2 separate regions of the Homo sapiens genome follow, and region 1 is linked to region 2. The links are contacts of gene promoters, found by promoter capture Hi-C in blood cells and fetal thymus (Javierre and others, 2016). All regions are on one chromosome and are shown on one strand. The core of a region is centred on a gene start or on the middle of the fragment in contact, and the rest is flanking DNA. Distances in the headings are between cores, read along the strand shown.

Region 1 (3,218 bases), core at 129-2,628, 580 kb before region 2:
AGCGAACTCCCCCTCGGCTTGGGGGATGGAGGCTGCCCCGGGGCCTGCAGGCTGTGTATCGATCCCCCAGCCTCAGCCAACGCAAGTTCTCCCGACACAAACCCCTCCCTACCCTCTCGGCTTTCCCAGCCTTGCAGGCGTCTAACGCTATGCTCGAGGCGCCCTCCCCTCTTTCCCGCAATAAAGTAAACCCGGTGGATATTCATTCCCCTCCCTAACTCGCCTCCTTCTTTCCCCCTCCCCCCTCAGCTTACTAACCCCGCGCACAGAGCTCGCCGCCGGCGGGCCCCTTCCACCCAGTGTATCATAATGCCCAACGCTCTCCTCCTCCCCCTCTCTTAATCAGAAACGTGCTCGCGAGCCCCCCTCCCTCTGCGTGCATACATTAGGGTCTGCTTTGCATGCAGCGGCAGGCAGAGACCGGAGGAAGAAGGGGCGGGGGCGCTTTTGCCCGCCTCTTCCCTCCAGGCCCCGTTAGCCACCCAGCTTCAGCTTCGTTGTAACACCGCGTCGTTAGCGGAGCACGCCGTGGCCTCAGTGCCCGGGCTGGAGAAACACAACCCAACTCCCTGCAGAAGGGCACGAAAGCCAGACGAGTGCACAGTAGAGCGAGGAGGTGGCAGGAGACCTGCCACTCGGTGTGTGCTTTTTGGAAAGAGCTCCAGCATGAAAATGGGAGGGGCTCCTTTTTTATTTTTTAAAGTGCGTTCATTGAGGGCCTTTCTGTTTTGCATATAGTAAACTGGGCAGCGCTTCTGTTTTGCATGTAGTACAATAAGGGCTCTTTTATTCTAGAAGCGTTCAATTCGGGCTAACCCATCTTGTATCCGTGCCCTGGGGCGGAGGAGAAGGCTCACTGCTCCCCGACCCAGCCGCCGCGTTATACTGGAAGCTGCTCTCCCGGGCTGTTCGATTCCCAGCGCGTCCCGGGAACGTGTGTAATCGGCCTCTCGGCGCTCAAGGCTGCAGGCGGCCCGGCTCCCTACGCCTCCATCCTCCGCGTAGTCCTCGCCCCCTCCCCCTCTCTCCGGAACCCGCGCTCTGCTCCGGGCTCCCGGGCTTCCTTCCCCCCTCCTTTTCCCGAGCAATGCCTCTCCCGGAGGGCGGGGCATGCAGTTATCCAGGTTGCGGGGCCGGCGGGCGGGCAGGAGGCGGCGGCCCGGGCCTCGGGATGGAGTTGCAGCGCCCAGGCGTCAGAGGCGGAGGCCCGAGGCCGCTATACAGATTGCGGGGCTGGCGGGCGCGGCCCGGCGCTCTGCATAGCGGCCGGCAGGGTGCAGGCGGCCGGGCGGCGCAGAGCTGGTTAGGCAGGTTCCGGGGCCCCGTGCCCCCCCCTCCGCCTCCCCGCCCCCCTGTGTTGTCGCCTCTCCCTCTCGCTGCTTCACTTCACGGGGCGAACATGGCGCACAGCTGTCGGTGGCGCTTCCCCGCCCGACCCGGGACCACCGGGGGCGGCGGCGGCGGGGGGCGCCGGGGCCTAGGGGGCGCCCCGCGGCAACGCGTCCCGGCCCTGCTGCTTCCCCCCGGGCCCCCGGTCGGCGGTGGCGGCCCCGGGGCGCCCCCCTCCCCCCCGGCTGTGGCGGCCGCGGCGGCGGCGGCGGGAAGCAGCGGGGCTGGGGTTCCAGGGGGAGCGGCCGCCGCCTCAGCAGCCTCCTCGTCGTCCGCCTCGTCTTCGTCTTCGTCATCGTCCTCAGCCTCTTCAGGGCCGGCCCTGCTCCGGGTGGGCCCGGGCTTCGACGCGGCGCTGCAGGTCTCGGCCGCCATCGGCACCAACCTGCGCCGGTTCCGGGCCGTGTTTGGGGAGAGCGGCGGGGGAGGCGGCAGCGGAGAGGTAAGGGGGCGAGGAACCCCCAGGTCCGGGGTCTCGACCCTCTGCGGAGCCCCCTCCCCTCCCCCATCCGGGATTGAGGAGCATCCCAATTCTGGGACCATCTCGGGGTCCCTGACCCGGGGCGAATGGCTCTCCCATCTTGGGACCCCCATGCAGGGCTGCAGACCCCCAGGCGCCCCCACCCCGGGGTTTGGGCCCATCTGGCTGAGGGCGTTTGCCCCCCGCTCTCCTCCCCCTGACCCTTCCCCAAATCCCTTGGCACAGACCCCCTCGCCGGGGTTTCCCATCCCGGGACTGAACCCCTCCTCCCTTTCACAGATTACCTCATCCGAGCAAGATTCCTCCCTCCCTCCCTCCTAGAGACCTGATCCCGCCACATCCCCGCCTCCCTCTCTGGGCAGATGTGTTACTCCTAGGGCAGTTTTCCTCTCGGGCGTCTCTCGGGTGATGGCCTCATCCAGGGCCACGTTCTCCTGGCCCTTGGGGATCGTGTCCCTTCCAGCACCTTGCTTTCGAAAACCCGATGAACCCTCGCGCCATCCCCGGGCCAGGTCCCTATACTGCCAGCCACTCCCCCTTCCTTCACCTCCACCCTCTACCCCCACCCCAAGCAGACCGATCCTCCCCCATCCCGCCCTACCCCACCGGGGAAAATCTCTCCTCTGCACCTTGCCTGGTCTCACCTCCTTTCCCTCTGAAGATAACGGTGATTCCTCATACAGCAGTCTCTTCCCCCCCCCGCCCCGTCTTACAGGGCTACAGTTTCTAGCCTATTGGTAGCCGGGAATTACTCTACCTTCACTCCACCCTTTCCCTCCTTTAGAATGAAGGATTAGTGGCATCTTGGAGGGGAAAATAGTCCACTGTCCCCTAGGCTTAGAGAAGAGCAGCTTTCCACCACTCCCCTTGGAGAGGAGGCAGGCTTTCCCTCCAGCTCTGGGGAAGGGGGCCCCTGTGAGGGGAGGTGTTTGTTGGGGGACTGAGGCAGCATCCTCCCAGGGGAAGCAGCTGCTCTCCTACCCCACCCACTGCGCCTGAGAGCACGCAGTCTCCAACCCGAGCTCCCTCCCGCCCTTCTCTTCTCGTCATTTCATTATTGATCCACCTTTTCCTAGGCCAATCCTGGGGCTTGGAAGGGGTGGGGGAAGCCAGGTTGGGGTGAGGAGAGTAGATAAGGGACAGTTATACTTTAGTGTGGTGGCGGTGGTTGCTTTGGGATGGGAGAAAAAGGATTATCAAGCAAAGTTATTCCTTAGAAAGGACTTGGGGTTGTCTCTGATTCTTGTAAGGGGACCCAAGGTGGATGAAGGGTCAGAGCGTTGCCCCTTCCCCATTAGTACTGGGGCAAGAACGGAGTTGCTTCTATAAACATTATTCGGCCCCCTTC
Region 2 (3,124 bases), core at 372-2,871:
CTGGGTTCAAGGGATCCTCATGCCTCAGCATCCTGAGTAGCTGGGATTACAGACGTGTGCCCCCACGTCCAGCTAACTTTCAGTAGAGCAGGTTTTCACCATATTGGCCAGGCTGGTCTTTAACTCCTGACCTCCGTTGATTCACCCGCCTTGGCCTCCCAAAGTGCTAGAATTATAGACGTTCAGTCACTATAGTTAGCTGAGCCTTATTATTGTGGAATTATGGTAATCAGACCATACTACTGAGTAGACCGTACTAAATTTCTGGTTTTAAAATTTAATACATCAACAAAATATTTACCATAAAGGTTTTAAACATTTTCAAAGTTGTTTCAAAATAGTAATCTAATTATTTCAAAAACGGTTGTCCCTGTAATTCTATGCATCCATTTACTCGAAACATAAAAGATCCTTGGGCTTCACTAAACTGCCACAGGGTCCACGGCACAAAAGTGGCTAAGAACCCTGAGAATTCATCTCAGGATCAGGAGTAAGACGTCAGAATTACATTACTAACAGCCAATGGTCAAGCCACGCTTTTTTTTTTTAATTCTGCTTTTCCAGCAAAACCACTGAAGATGCTTAACATGGTCAAGACAATTTAACCTACAAAAACACACATGTAGGATACACCCCTCACCTTTACTAAGGAGCTCCTGAAGGGCTGCCCTGGCCAGGGAGCCTCGAATCTTCAGTCTCTCAGAGACCACAGCTGGGGTTATAAGTTTATAGTTGGGAACTTCCTTACAGAGTTTATCATAGGTAGCTTTGTCAAACAAGACTAAGTTATTGAGCTTGTCCCGAACTTTGCCTTTGGACCACTTCTGCTCACCAAAACAAAACAGAAACAAGTTAGTATTTCTGGCAGAAGCACCCTTTCCCTCTCGAGTAATCTGCGTCAGAGAAATCTGTTCCACCGTTATCAAGGATAAATTACACATTACTAAAACAAAAACAAAAAAAAAACACCGACACGTTTTTGGCCTTCAAACAGGGGCCGAGCCCCACTAGATCAGTTAAAAATAACACAGCAGGCACAGCGGCAGACACTTCGCACAACAGACCCATTTTCATGATCCTAATGGGAAAAAGAACGAGTGGTGACGGGAAGATAAACTCTCACATTTTGACTCTAGAAATCTACACCTGAAAAACCACTTACTATACAAGTTACCTATTACTAGAGGATTACGAGAGAGTTACCCCTAGTCTCTTTCAGAGAGGTCTTATTTCTACCTTCTTTTTGGCCTTGCCCCCGGATTTGTTCACTGGGTCTTTGTCTTTCTTGGCCGACTTTCCAGCGTCCTTCTTCTTCTTGTCGTCCTTAGGCGGCTGTAGGAGGGCAGCGGGAATGCAACCAGGTCCTCAAATAGCGCCAAAGTCCCCTAATACTGCGCCCTCAGCCCCCGCAAACTCCACCACCAGAGCACATGGGCCAAGCAATAACCGCGCCCGCCCTGCAACCGAGGCCGGCAGGCCAAGGAGCGCTCCCGCCGAAGGCTCTCCCCACTGAGTCCTCAAACCCAAGAACGCCGGCGACTTCACACCCCTGAAGCTTACCATTGCGAAGCTCGGAGAATAGCAGCAGACACCGCAGCCTCGTCAAGATGTCGGACAAAAAGGAAGCGCTGCTCAGAAACGGGCCCAAAAACCACCGTCCGCTGTGAGTACTTCCGGGGCAAAAGGCGGAGCCAGGCAGAAGAAGTCCCACGGCGAAGCGCTCGCCCTCTAGCCTGAGGCGGAAGACAGGAAGTGGATTCTAGTTCCCAAGCCGCACCGCCTAAATACTGCCGGAGTCTGCGCTAGTTGTGACGCATACTATAGCGCTGTTTTCCTGCACTGATAAACGAAAAGCAATCCACCAGGTCTCGGCAGCTAACTTTCCGGCACTACTTATGCCCGAGCGTGTCGCTCCCAGTGCGCAAGTGCAGCAGGTGGCTGCACGGGGGGCGCGGGAGGAGGAGGAGGAGGAGGAGGAGGCTGGGGTGGGGCCGGCGGCAAGTGCTGTGATGCGGTTCCGGGGAGGGGCCGTCGGGTAGAGGCTGAATACCAGTTTCCGAGCGGCAAGGCAGCGATGGCGATTTTTAGTGTGTATGTGGTGAACAAAGCTGGCGGCTTGATTTACCAGTTGGACAGCTACGCGCCACGGGCTGAGGCTGAGAAAACTTTCAGTTATCCGCTGGATCTGCTGCTCAAGCTACACGATGAGCGTGTGTTGGTTGCTTTCGGCCAGCGGGACGGCATCCGAGGTGGGCTAGGCTCGGGCCCGTGGCGGGTGCGGGGGTGGGAGGGCCCCAGTGCTGTAGAAGTGGGCTGGTTGTAGGTGCGGGGTTGGGGGAAAAGGGGTTGTGTCGGGTCCCTTGTCCCCTCGGCGGAATCCCCGGGCTGCACCTTCGCTGACCGTTAGCTTCACCTCTGCAGTGGGTCATGCAGTGCTGGCCATCAATGGCATGGACGTGAATGGCAGGTACACGGCCGACGGGAAAGAGGTGCTGGAGTATCTGGGTAACCCTGCTAATTACCCGGTGTCCATTCGATTTGGCCGGCCCCGCCTCACTTCTAATGAGAAGCTTATGCTGGCCTCCATGTTCCACTCGTAAGTCCCCCGTCTCCTGAACGGCAGCGCTTGTAATTTGTCTACCTTTTCTTAAATCGTCGTTCTGGTGTTATGAAAAACGCAACCGATCCAGATCTAGATTTTAGGTAATAACGGCAGTGGTGTCATCTTTTTTTGCTGGGTGGGGAGGGGCCGCGGAGTTACCCAGGCTGGAGCGCAGTGGCGGGATCTCGGCTCACTGCAGCCTCTGCCTCCCAGGTTCAAGCGATTCTCCTGCCTCAGCCTCCCGAGTAGCTGGGATTACAGGCGCGTGCCACCACGACCAGCTAATTTTTGTATTTTTAGTAGAGAGGGGTTTTGCCATGTTGGCCAGGCTGGTCTCAAACTCCTGACCTCAGGTGATCCACCTGCCTCGGCTTCCCAAAGTGCTGGGATTACAGGAGTGAGCCACCGCGCCCGGCCGAGGTGTCATCTTACTTAAAGTCAACTTCTCTTCTCTGAGCCTTAGTTTCTTCATATTTAAAGAAAGCCAGTTTAACTAAATGACCTTTAAACTTTTTCTGCTCT

Evidence for each region. Contacts are between HindIII fragments. The CHiCAGO score rates a contact against its expected background, and 5 or more counts as called.
Region 1: the fragment with the promoter of KMT2A here is called in contact with the fragment with the promoter of RPS25 in region 2 in 8 of 17 cell types (non-activated CD4 T cells, total CD4 T cells, naive CD8 T cells and 5 more); the score reaches 8.2 in non-activated CD4 T cells.

What each region holds. Positions count from the first base shown.
Region 1 is chr11:118,435,114-118,438,331 of GRCh38, forward strand. It overlaps KMT2A (lysine methyltransferase 2A), which reads left to right and starts at 1,379. Exons shown (of 36, transcript NM_001197104.2): 1 at 1,379-1,831. The coding sequence starts at 1,400. RefSeq lists enhancers at 351-1,348, 548-687, 1,349-2,347, 2,348-3,218 and a silencer at 998-1,477. The HindIII fragment of the contact is 8,732 bases long and covers 1-3,218 here.
Region 2 is chr11:119,016,722-119,019,845 of GRCh38, forward strand. RPS25 (ribosomal protein S25) reads right to left here and starts at 1,622. Exons shown (of 5, transcript NM_001028.3): 1 at 1,561-1,622; 2 at 1,237-1,332; 3 at 641-824. The coding sequence starts at 1,563. TRAPPC4 (trafficking protein particle complex subunit 4) reads left to right here and starts at 2,045. Exons shown (of 5, transcript NM_016146.6): 1 at 2,045-2,249; 2 at 2,422-2,596. The coding sequence starts at 2,075. RefSeq lists enhancers at 1,344-1,413, 1,434-1,663, 1,918-2,616 and a silencer at 1,904-2,023. The HindIII fragment of the contact is 1,015 bases long and covers 1,554-2,568 here.